Regions from separate parts of the Homo sapiens genome. Here region 2 is linked to region 1. The links are contacts of gene promoters, found by promoter capture Hi-C in human tissues and cell types (Jung and others, 2019). All regions are on one chromosome and are shown on one strand. The core of a region is centred on a gene start or on the middle of the fragment in contact, and the rest is flanking DNA. Distances in the headings are between cores, read along the strand shown. Region 1 holds the start of SRRM4 (serine/arginine repetitive matrix 4). Region 2 overlaps SRRM4 (serine/arginine repetitive matrix 4).

Evidence for each region. The method cuts DNA at HindIII sites, captures the fragments that hold promoters and counts their contacts. A contact is called where the count stands out against the background at its distance.
Region 2: a fragment that was not itself captured here is called in contact with the fragment with the promoter of SRRM4 in region 1 in 2 of the 25 tissues and cell types used here (aorta and thymus).

Annotation. Positions count from the first base shown.
Region 1 is chr12:118,978,149-118,983,293 of GRCh38, forward strand. It overlaps SRRM4 (serine/arginine repetitive matrix 4), which reads left to right and starts at 3,393. Exons shown (of 13, transcript NM_194286.4): 1 at 3,393-3,865. The coding sequence starts at 3,735. The HindIII fragment of the contact is 17,491 bases long and covers 1-5,145 here.
Region 2 is chr12:119,092,548-119,097,622 of GRCh38, forward strand. All of the region lies in intron 1 of SRRM4 (serine/arginine repetitive matrix 4), which reads left to right. Among named protein-coding and RNA genes, the nearest start is that of SRRM4-AS1, 43 kb to the left of the region's middle. The HindIII fragment of the contact is 4,289 bases long and covers 1-3,506 here.

The DNA.
Region 1 (5,145 bases), core at 2,143-4,642:
AAAATTAGCTGGGCCGTCGTGGCAGGCGCCTGCAATCCCAGCTACTAGTGAGGCTGAGAAAGGAGAATGGCTTGAACCTGAGAGGCGGAGGTTGCAGTGAGCTGAGATCACACCACTGCATTTCAGCCTGGGCAACAGAGCGAGACTCTGTCTCAAAAAAAAATTCTTCATAGTATTGATAAAGAAACTGTGACATAGGCAAGTGAAATCCCTCCTCCAACATTACACAGCTAGGAAATGGCAGAGCTGGAATTTGAAGCCAGGCATTCTGGATTCCAAGTCCTGAACTGATTACTGCAGACTCCCAATTTAGGAACCTCAACACCAGGTGCTTCTAAGTATGTGACTCATTGTTATCTGATTTATTTTTAAATGGTGGTCCATCCTGATATGCGTAGTATCCCACTCCATCCTCCACCCCACCAAGCAAAAACAGAAACTGTATTTTTCACAAATTTCCTTTGCTTCCTACAGGATCACCCTGGGGAAGTCACTTGGTCATCCTCAACTTCTTCATGTTTAAAACAGAGTAAGATCGAATAGCAGGTCTACGTTTTTTAACTTTTATTTTAAGTTCAGGGGTACAAGCGCAGGTTTGTTACATAGGTAGACTTGTGTCACGGGGGTTCGTCGAACAGATTATTTCATCACCCAGGTATTTAGCCTAGTACCCATTAGTTATTTCTCCTGATCCTCTCCCTCCTCCCAACTTCCACCCTCCAAAAGGCCCCAGTGTGTGTTATTCCCATCTATATGCCCATGTGTTCTCATCATTTAGCTCCCATTTATAAGTGAGAACATGTGGTATCAGGTTTTCTGTTCCTATGTTAGTTTGCTAAGGATAATGACCTCCAGCTCCACTCATGTCCCTGCAAAGGACATGATATTCTTTTCATGGCTGCGTAGTATTCCATGGTGTATATGTACCACAACTTCTTTATCCAGTCTATCACTGATGGGCATTTAGGTTGATTCCATGTCTTTGCTATTGTGAGTAGTGCTGCAGTGAACATACACATGCATGTGTCTTTATAAAAGAATGAGCAGGTCTACTTTTAGTTCTTTGAGAAATCTTCATACTGTTTTCCATAGTTGTTGTACCAATTTACATCCACACCAACAGTGTATAACTGTTCCCTTTTCACTGCATCTACACCATCTATTTTTTTTTTTTACTTTTTAATAATGGCCTTTTGGGGGTAAGGTACTATTCGGGTGACAGGTATGTAAAAGCCCAGACTTCATCACTATACAATTCATCCATGTAACCAAAAAACACTTGCACCCTTAAAGCTATTGAAATAAGATAAATAAATAAAATAGAATAAGATCAGCTTTCTCTCCCACCTCATCTGGCTACGATGGGATTTTAAAAAGGCAATGTTTTGCATATGGGAGCTCTATCAACATTTTAGGGATTAGGAGCAGGCACACAACTGGAAGATGTTGACTGATCTTGTGGGGGTAGGATCCCACCTACCTCTCTCCTGCAAGTGACTCAGTTCATACCCTAAATGTCATGACTAAGGTTAGTTTTAAAGATGCCAGTCTGCTACCTATAAGAAGCCAGCTCTAGATTGCATTTACAATGATACCAACTTCTGGGTGGGAAACGGGGGTCTAGCCCAATCAGGGAATGGGGGATTTGGGGCGCAAGGTAAGAGGGAGAGGAAGGGAAGGGGTTAGCCTAGTCTCCACTTTGCTCCATCTCCAACCTTCCCAGGCCTGACCCCCACCTCTGGGCCCTCTCCCCCGGCAACCCACATAAGAAGCCAGCAAATGCACCTCTCGTTGTTGACCAGAAGGGGTCACTGCAGAGCAAGTAGCGCTCTCAGGCACTCAAATAAGCGGACGCAGGCGTGTCGAACACACACACTTCAAACGTAGATACCCTTTGGGGCGGGTACTCATTTACTCCAAGGTTCTTTCTTCTCCTGCCCCATCTTATCCTCTCTGTTGGCCTCTTCATCTTCACCTCCTAGTTACCTCCTGTTCCCCTTCAGAGAATTTCTGGAGTTCCCATTGTTCTCCCGACCCCCCCGCCCTACCCCGCCCTCATTGGGTCCCCATTGCTATCTGCTTTAGCAAAGAGCAGGAGTTTATTCTCGCTGTGACTGGGACTCAGCACCAGGTGCTTGGAGGCATTTAAGACTGAGCGAGGCCTCCTTCCAGGAATTTACAGCCTGGAAAGTGGAAGCGGGGTTGGGGGGAGGGGGAGGGCGTTAGGTGGGAGATGGGGGAGTAACAACTCTGCTAAGATTAAAAGGCTTCCAGGAAGGCAAGGGCTGAGGGGTCCCGCCACGATCTCTTTTTTTTATAATGAAAACCCTGGGGGAAAACAAGAGTCATTCTAACCAGATCTTCTGTGTCTGGGGTTGATTTGGGATTCTAAACCTCCACTTGCTTGGGATTACGATTGAACTGCGAGGCGGTAAGGAGATGGGGAGGAGAGACCGAAAAGTAACTATCCCCCTGCTAATCCTCGAGATTTTCCTCTCCAACCCTCCCACTAAGCGCTTTCTTTTCCAAAACGTACTCCTTTCCCGAGACTAGCGGCATTAGGAAAAGTGGCTGCAGGCGGATTCCCCAGGAGTGGATGGGGGTGGGGTGGGGTGAGATGGGAACTCTTTCCTCTGGACGGGGTTGGCGGCGGGGACGCTGGGCAGGCCGGCTGTGAGACACAAAAGAGATACCCTTGACAGCTCCGCATGCACAGATGTAACGCTGCGCCCCTTGGCGGGCGGGGGCCCTGCTCGGCAGATGGCGAGAAGCCGAATTGGTGAGGGATTGTCTATCAAATGGCACTTTCTGGGTGGTGGAGACCTCGCTAACCCCCGGCGCAAAGAGGAACGCAGGGCACCCTCTGTACCGGCCTAGGCCGTGTCTCCCAAAAGTGAGGGTCTGGGGGAGGCCGGCTGGGGTGGATAGATTAAGTTTTTTACGAGCCCCCCCAACCCCCCCCCCCCCCCCACGCAGAAGATCAGCTACAAGACTTGCGAAGGGGCTGGAAAGAAAGGTGGCCTGGCCCAAAGGGGGCACCCAGGAAAGGGCTGAGGAAGGCCAGCGATGATGGGAGAGGAGAGGGGCCTGGGAAGCAGGATCTCCTGCCTGGCGCAGATTGGGGTGCCAGGATGGCTTCTCAGAGGGATCAGCGCTGCAACTCGGTCGCCGCGGGGCCCTGGTGACAGGCGCACGCCCCGCCCTTTCTCCTCCCAAGACCTGCGGGCTTTTGTTATGCAGATGGCGGCAGGAGGCTGAGCCTGAGGAGGAGGGGGTTGGTGGGGAGGAGGAGAGACGGAGAGGGGGGAGGAAAGTGCAGCTCGCGCGACCAGCCTCCTCTTCCAACGTCACATTGTGCGAGAGACAAAACCCGGGCGCGCCGGAGCTCACACGCGCACGCACACACATCCGACCCCGTCGCCTCTTCTCTCCTGGTGCTGCCCAGAAAGCCAGCCCTCCCTTCCCTTCTTGGGGCGCAGAGGCTCAGCCAGCTCAGAGCGCAGCCTGGAGCCGACCCAGAAGGGCGAAGAAAGCCCAGCGGACGAGCCTCCTTTCTCTGCTGCCTGCCCGGGCTGGGGCGTCCCATCCCCCGCCCTGAACTCCGATCTCTCCCACCCCACCCCTCTCTGGGTTTCACCCGGACAGAGCCGGGAGCTGGGTGTCGCCCCCGTTTGGAATCCACGTTTCAGCACTTTGGACAGCGCCCCGGACGCCCCGGCCCCTTTGGGTTGGCGATGGCGAGCGTTCAGCAAGGCGAGAAGCAGCTTTTTGAGAAGTTCTGGCGAGGAACCTTCAAAGCGGTGGCCACCCCCCGTCCCGAGAGCATCATTGTCGCCAGTATCACGGCCCGCAAGCCGCTGCCAAGGTAATGATCTCCTTCTTAGAAGGGGGGATCCTGAAGGTCCTCCTTTCTGGCCTGTGCCCCAGAGCCCGGAGGGGTGGATGCAGGCAGCCGGGCCAGGGCGCCTGTCTTTTCCCGTCACTACTCGGCGGCTCCCGCTGAAACATGGGAACTCATTGCTTGTGTGAGGTGGAAGATGGTGAGAAGGGACAGGAATTCTTTGGGGGAAAGCAACGCTTATTGGACCCCCGTAGCTCCTATTCAAGAGGTTTTGCTACCTGAGGGTGGGCGGTGCAGATGGGGTACGACTTGACTGAAAAACTTTTCTTGGTGTCACAGAGTCCAGAGGGCAGGTGGGCCAAGGAATGGTGGATTTGAGATGTTTGGGGGGTGTTGTACCAGAAAAGGAGAACTGAGCCAGCTCAAGCAGCGTTCAGAGATAGCACACATTTCCATCCTCGGCTCGGAAACTAGCGAGCTTTGAACATTTTTGACAAAAGCCCATATGCTGTTCCCTCAAATACACCCAAAACAGCACCCTCCTCCACGCCTTTCTGGCGGCTGCTGCCGCTGCTGCTGAATTCTCTCCTCTCCAGCATCCAAAACCAAGACTCTGAGCTCAGGAGTCAGGGAGGAGCCTTCCAAGATCGTGAAGATGATCTTGGAAGAGTTTTATTTTGTTTTTTTTTGTTTTTTTTTTTTTTTTCCAAAAAGAATCTGATTGCTTTGAACTCAGGGATGAGAACCGATCCTTGGATGGTGGTAGACATGGTGCTGATGGAAGGAAGAATAAGGGAAGAAATGAAAGAAACAGGGGAACAGGAGGTGGGGTGAGAGGGAGAGGAGGTTGGGGGAAAATGGAAGCATTCCAAGACAGAGAAAAATCCAATTCTTTTCATAAATCATTCAATTTAGAGGAGTTTAAGAATGAAGGGAAGAAGGCTGTGCTCTCTGTCAGGGAAAATCAAGGTAGTATGAAAACTCATCTTTTGCTGGTGTTGGATGAGTGGTTTAGTAGGAGAAAAGAAAGAAGTGGACCAGGGGGACCACTTGGAGGATTTATTAATCCTGGCAGTCTGCATTAGGGAGCAGATTGAAAACATGTCTGCAAAAGTGCTTAGGACAGACTGAACGTCTGTTCTGGCACAACTGATTCTGAACTTTCCAGTGAGTGTGAGGTGGAAGACGTATGGGAAATTATGTCTGAAGAATCAAAGCCAGATTGGAGAAGTTTTCCTCTTCACTGTCTTATTGAGGATCATACAGGTCTTTAGAGAAATAGGTGTCCCATTTAGGAATGGGTG
Region 2 (5,075 bases), core at 112-2,611, 110 kb after region 1:
TTCACACTCCATAGCCAATCCATGCAAAAACTCTGTTGATTCTACCTTCAATAAAAGTCCATAATCTGGCCACCTCTCATCACTACTGCAGAAAAAACACTGACCCCAGCCACCGTCTTCTTCATATGGATTATTGTAGTCATTTCTTCACTGGTCTTCCGTATCTATTCCAGATCCCTGGCCATATAGGCTCAGCAAGATGCCAGAGGGATCCTTTAAAACCTAAGTCAGAACATATCTATCCAATGAAGCCTCCAATGGCATCTCATCTCACCGAGAGGAAAGAGCCAAGTCCCTGTGAAAGCCCACCAGATTCTTATACCTGATCCCTCATTACCTCTCTGACTTTACCTCCTACTAATCTCCCCTTTGCTCCCTCAGCTCCAGCCACACTGCTAATTCTTCACTGCATTCCATATGTTCCTGCCTCAGGGCCTTTGCACTGGCTCCACTCTGCCTGTTATGTTCTCCTGGGCATGCTCAAGGCTCACTCCCTCATCACTTTCAAGTCTTTGCTCAAATCTCACCTTCTCAATGAGGGCTTCTCTGATTACCCAGTTTAAAATTGCAAGCCCCTCGCAGTAGTATTCCATCTCCCCCCTAGCACTTATTACCTTCTAATATTTACCACTTAATTATGTTTATTTTCTGCTCTCTTCCTACCTCCACCCATTGCAGTACAATGTGAGCTCCACCAAGCAAGGTTTTTTTCTCTATCTTGTTCCCAGTGCCTGCACATAATAGATGCTCAATAAATATTTGTTGAATGAAGAATAAGTGAACGGTCCTTGGAAGCACCTCTTGGGAGCAGTTTACACTCTCCTAGATCTTGTACCAAGGATCCTCCTTTCCTGGGTTGGGGGTTTCCTCTTAAGCTTAGGGCTTCTTTCCACTTCCCAGTTCCCTCTTGTTTGCTTAGTCTTTCTTCTAATAGTGGCTGTGATGGTCCCCAAAAGGGACTCACTTGTCCTGTCCCTCCCATGGCAAGAAAACATAATTAGCAACTCGCCCTCCCCGGAGAAATCCTAACTGTGTCTGCAATTCCAGCTGATCCCCAGGGGACCCTGGGCTGGAAGGAGAGATGATATTCTTGCCCATGGTGACACAACTTAGCAGAATCAGGACTTGAACCCAGGTCAGCAGGACTCCAGGTCCCATGCATTTTTCCCAGCATCACCTAATTACCTTTTGAACACCCTGCTCAAGTGGAAAACTATGACATTTTGGAATTCAGTCCCTTCCCTAGTTGGAGGCAGCCTGCATTTTAGGCAGTCTCAACAATCGAATCCAATCCACTTCTCAGCAGTTTTATCTCTCATGAAGCAAATAGGCAATTGATAGGCCAGCCTGTGGAGGGAGAAATGACTGGGTGGATGTGGGGTTGATTGGAGGGCAGTGGATGGATGTGTTCTGTGATGAGTTCAAAACCCGGTCAGGTTGGGTGCCTGACCTGCTTGGCTGAGTTGGGCAAGAAATGCTGAGCTGATTTTTCTCCACATGATTCTTTTGTCCTTTGACCTGAACTTGAGAACCAAGCAATTATTGATATATAAGAGTGTTTACCACACACTCATAAGCACACACACTCACACACATCCACACTCTTACACACTTGCTCTCAGCCCTGACAACTGGACTAAGCCATTCTCATCCATCGCCTGTGGAGAGGGAGTGGTGGGGAGCTGTGCTTGTCTATGTTGCTCATCCCTCAGGATCAAGTTCAAACTCCTTGTAGAATCTACAACATGGCTACTCAGAGTGTAGTTCCTGGAGCAACAGCCTCACCTGGGAATTGGTTAGAAATGCAGAAACTCAGGCCCTCCCCCAGACCTACTGAAGAATCAGCATCTGCAGTCTGACAAGATCCCCAGGTGACCCATGCACATGAAGGCTTGAAAAGCACCTGTCTACATGGCCCTGAAGAATCCAGCCCCTTTCTTCCTTCCTAGACTCAAGTCTTGCCTGCCACCCTCCACCTTCACTGTCTGTTCTAACTTACTGCATCCCCTGCAGTCACACGAAGGTCCACTGCTTTGTCTTGGTGCTGGACCTTTGCACTTGCTCTTCCTCCTTTTTGTTCCACTTTCCTGACCAATTTCTATTCATCTGCTAGAAACACATTCCGTGACCACCTGCCCACATTCCCCAGGAGGGGTTAGGTGCCCTCTCTGTGGGTCCACTGCCCCCGTAAGCCTCTCTCTATCAGAGAACTTCTTATATACCATATTGCAATTCCCGGTTTAGGGATCTGTCTCCCCTTCCAGGGTGAGAAGTCCTGCAGGGCAGAAACAATGTCTTGGTTACTTTTGGGTCTTTGAAATCTGATACTAAGTAGGTGTTCAGTAAACAACTGTTGAGTAATGAATGAAATAATGAGAGAAATGACAGCCTCATAAAACTTCCTTTCATTTTTTATTCAATTTCTACTAAAATGAACATTACTGCCCCTATATCCAAACGATGTCTCCCACAGCAGTGCTGTGCAATCCCCAGTTTTCCTCTAAGCTCTATTGCTTTTTCAAGCCACAATGGCAAAGCTCAAAGGGTCACAGCTCCTGAAGATTACCCCCATCCAGGCTTAATGAACTGGATTCACCTTGAAAACGAGTCGGAATGCCAAGACCTCAGGCCAGGACATTATTAACACAGCCCAGACTGAGGTCCCAGGAGCCAAGGCACAAATTGGCCAACTTCATCTTGTCTCTGGGCTAGGTCAGCCCCATGATAACTCTTGGGCTTTCTGAAGAGCATTTAAGCATGAGAGTCTAGGCCTACATTCTCTATTGAAACAGGCAGAGTGTGGGTGTCTGGCAAGTGTGGGAAAAAGGATGGACCTTTCACAGCCCTGGATGCACGGGTAGAACAAGTACCTGGGCCATGATCTCTGGAAGGAAGCAAGTACTTTTGCCTCTCCAGGTTTCAGTGCCTTCAGCTATGCAAGGGAAGGAGGTTCACCATGCTGCTGCTGCACACCCCACAGAGAGTTATAGGAATCAATTGAGACACTGGATTAGTAAGTCCTCTATACACAGAAGGAGCTATTTGTGGAATGGAGGCAATAAATGTCAGCGATGTCTCCAATCTCCTGGCCAACTGCCATTTCTGTTTGTGGAATATAAGATTCAGGCCAAACCTTGAGATACAGAGCCTCTCCAAACACATAAGACCAGTCCTATCTTACAACGTAATTACCAAGATTCCCCCTGTACCTCCACTTATCCTTTCCTATATTTTCAAAATGTTTTCTACTAAAAATACAGAAATTAGCCAAGCGTGGTGGCAGGTGCCTGTAATCCCAGCTACTCAGGAAGCTGAAGCAGGAGAATCACTTGAACCCGGGAGGCGGATGTTGCAGTGAGCCGAGATCATGCCACTGCACTCCAGCCTGGGCGATAGATTGAGCCTCAGTCTCAAAAAAAAAAAAAAAAAAAGAAAATGTTTTCCAGAGTCTTCTCCCTTTTGTTCTCAGTTGATTTTTATTTATTTATTTTTTTATGGAGTCTTGCTCTGTGGCGCAGGCTGGAGTGCAGTGGCGCGATCTCAGCTCACTGCAAGCTCTGCCTTCCAGGTTCATGCCATTCTCCTGCCTCAGCCTCCTGAGTAGCTGGGAGTACAGGTGCCCGCCACCACGCCCAGCTAATTTTTTTTTTTTTTTTTTGTATTTTTAGCAGTGACGGGGTTTCACTGTGTTAGCCAGGATGGTCTCAATCTTCCTGACCTCGTAATCCGCCCACCTCAGCCTCCCAAAATGCTGGGATTACAGGTGTGAGCCACCACGCCCGGCCTCTCAGTTGATTCTTATAAACAAGCAGGACAGCTGCTGATGTTCTTGCCAGTTAATATCTCAGGGTCTCAGTTTGTTCTTCACAGTAGGGATGGTAATGCTGGCTCATGGGTTTCTTTGAAAACTTCAATGAGAAGATGAGTGAGAAGTGCTTAGTTAGCTCAGTGTCTGGTGTGCAGGAGGTGCTTGATAAATACTAGCTGCTGTGATGATCAAGTGATGTGGAGAGAACGCTGGGCTGGGAGTCAAAAGGTGGCAACTCTACTAGCCAGAGCTATGATATGAGTCACTATTTGCCTTGGGCAAGTCCCCTTGCCTCTTGGGCCTCCCTTTCTCCACTCTGTACAGGGCTGAGCTGGATCTGGGGTTCTTCCCGCTCCACCATTGTTGGTCTCTGATTCCCCAAACAGTGTTTAACTCAATCTAGTGCTTGGGGCATGAGGATCTGCACCCAATGCTGGGCCAAATGAGAACTTTGTTGGGAGCAGCTGGCTGATTGGCTCAGTGAGCAAGAGCTTTGATGGGAAGCAGGGAAGCAGCTAGGGAGCCAGGCCTCTTGAGGAGTTTTGCAGAAAAGTTCAGCCCTGACTCTTATCGGAGCCTTGGAATCTGCCGGTTGCCATGACTACAGAGACAGCATCTAAGCTCCAGGTCTCTGATTAGCAGGAACAGAGCCGCCGGGAGGCCTTGAGGAATTCGGCACTCGTGGCTCCCTCCCTCCATCTGTGAAGTGGAGTGTGCCGGCCCTTGACTCCACTGTTTTAGCTGTCCCCAAAGATTTCGGCTTCTTTTAAGTATTTTTTAAATGCGATATAGAAGGAAAATGAGGCAACTGCCAGTACTTCTCAGCAAAGATGGAACACAGAATTTTTCTTAAGGACCTGCAAAGATGCAAGGCTGGAGGTAGGGAAGGGAGATAGGTGGGGCTGTGGAGGGCTGAGGGCTGTGGCTGAAGCCTGATTCCACTGCAGCGTTGAGTGACCTCAGACTCTTTACTTGTACCTCTGCTTCTTTATTTGTAAGGAGAGTTAGGATCCGATCTGTGGTTCCCACATGAGATCGGTAATCACAATTCATTTGTTCATCCATCCATTTATTCATTTGTTCATTCAATGAATGTTCATTGAGCAGGAAGCTACACGACGGTTTCCTTCTTCCTCCCCTCAGCATTTCCTCTCTGCCTGGCAGAATTCATTTTATTTCTGTTGGTTTTATTGCAAAATTCCAGGTGGGATACCCAACACCAGGAAGGTGAAATAAGTGCTATTGGAGAAAAAGAAAAATCTACCAC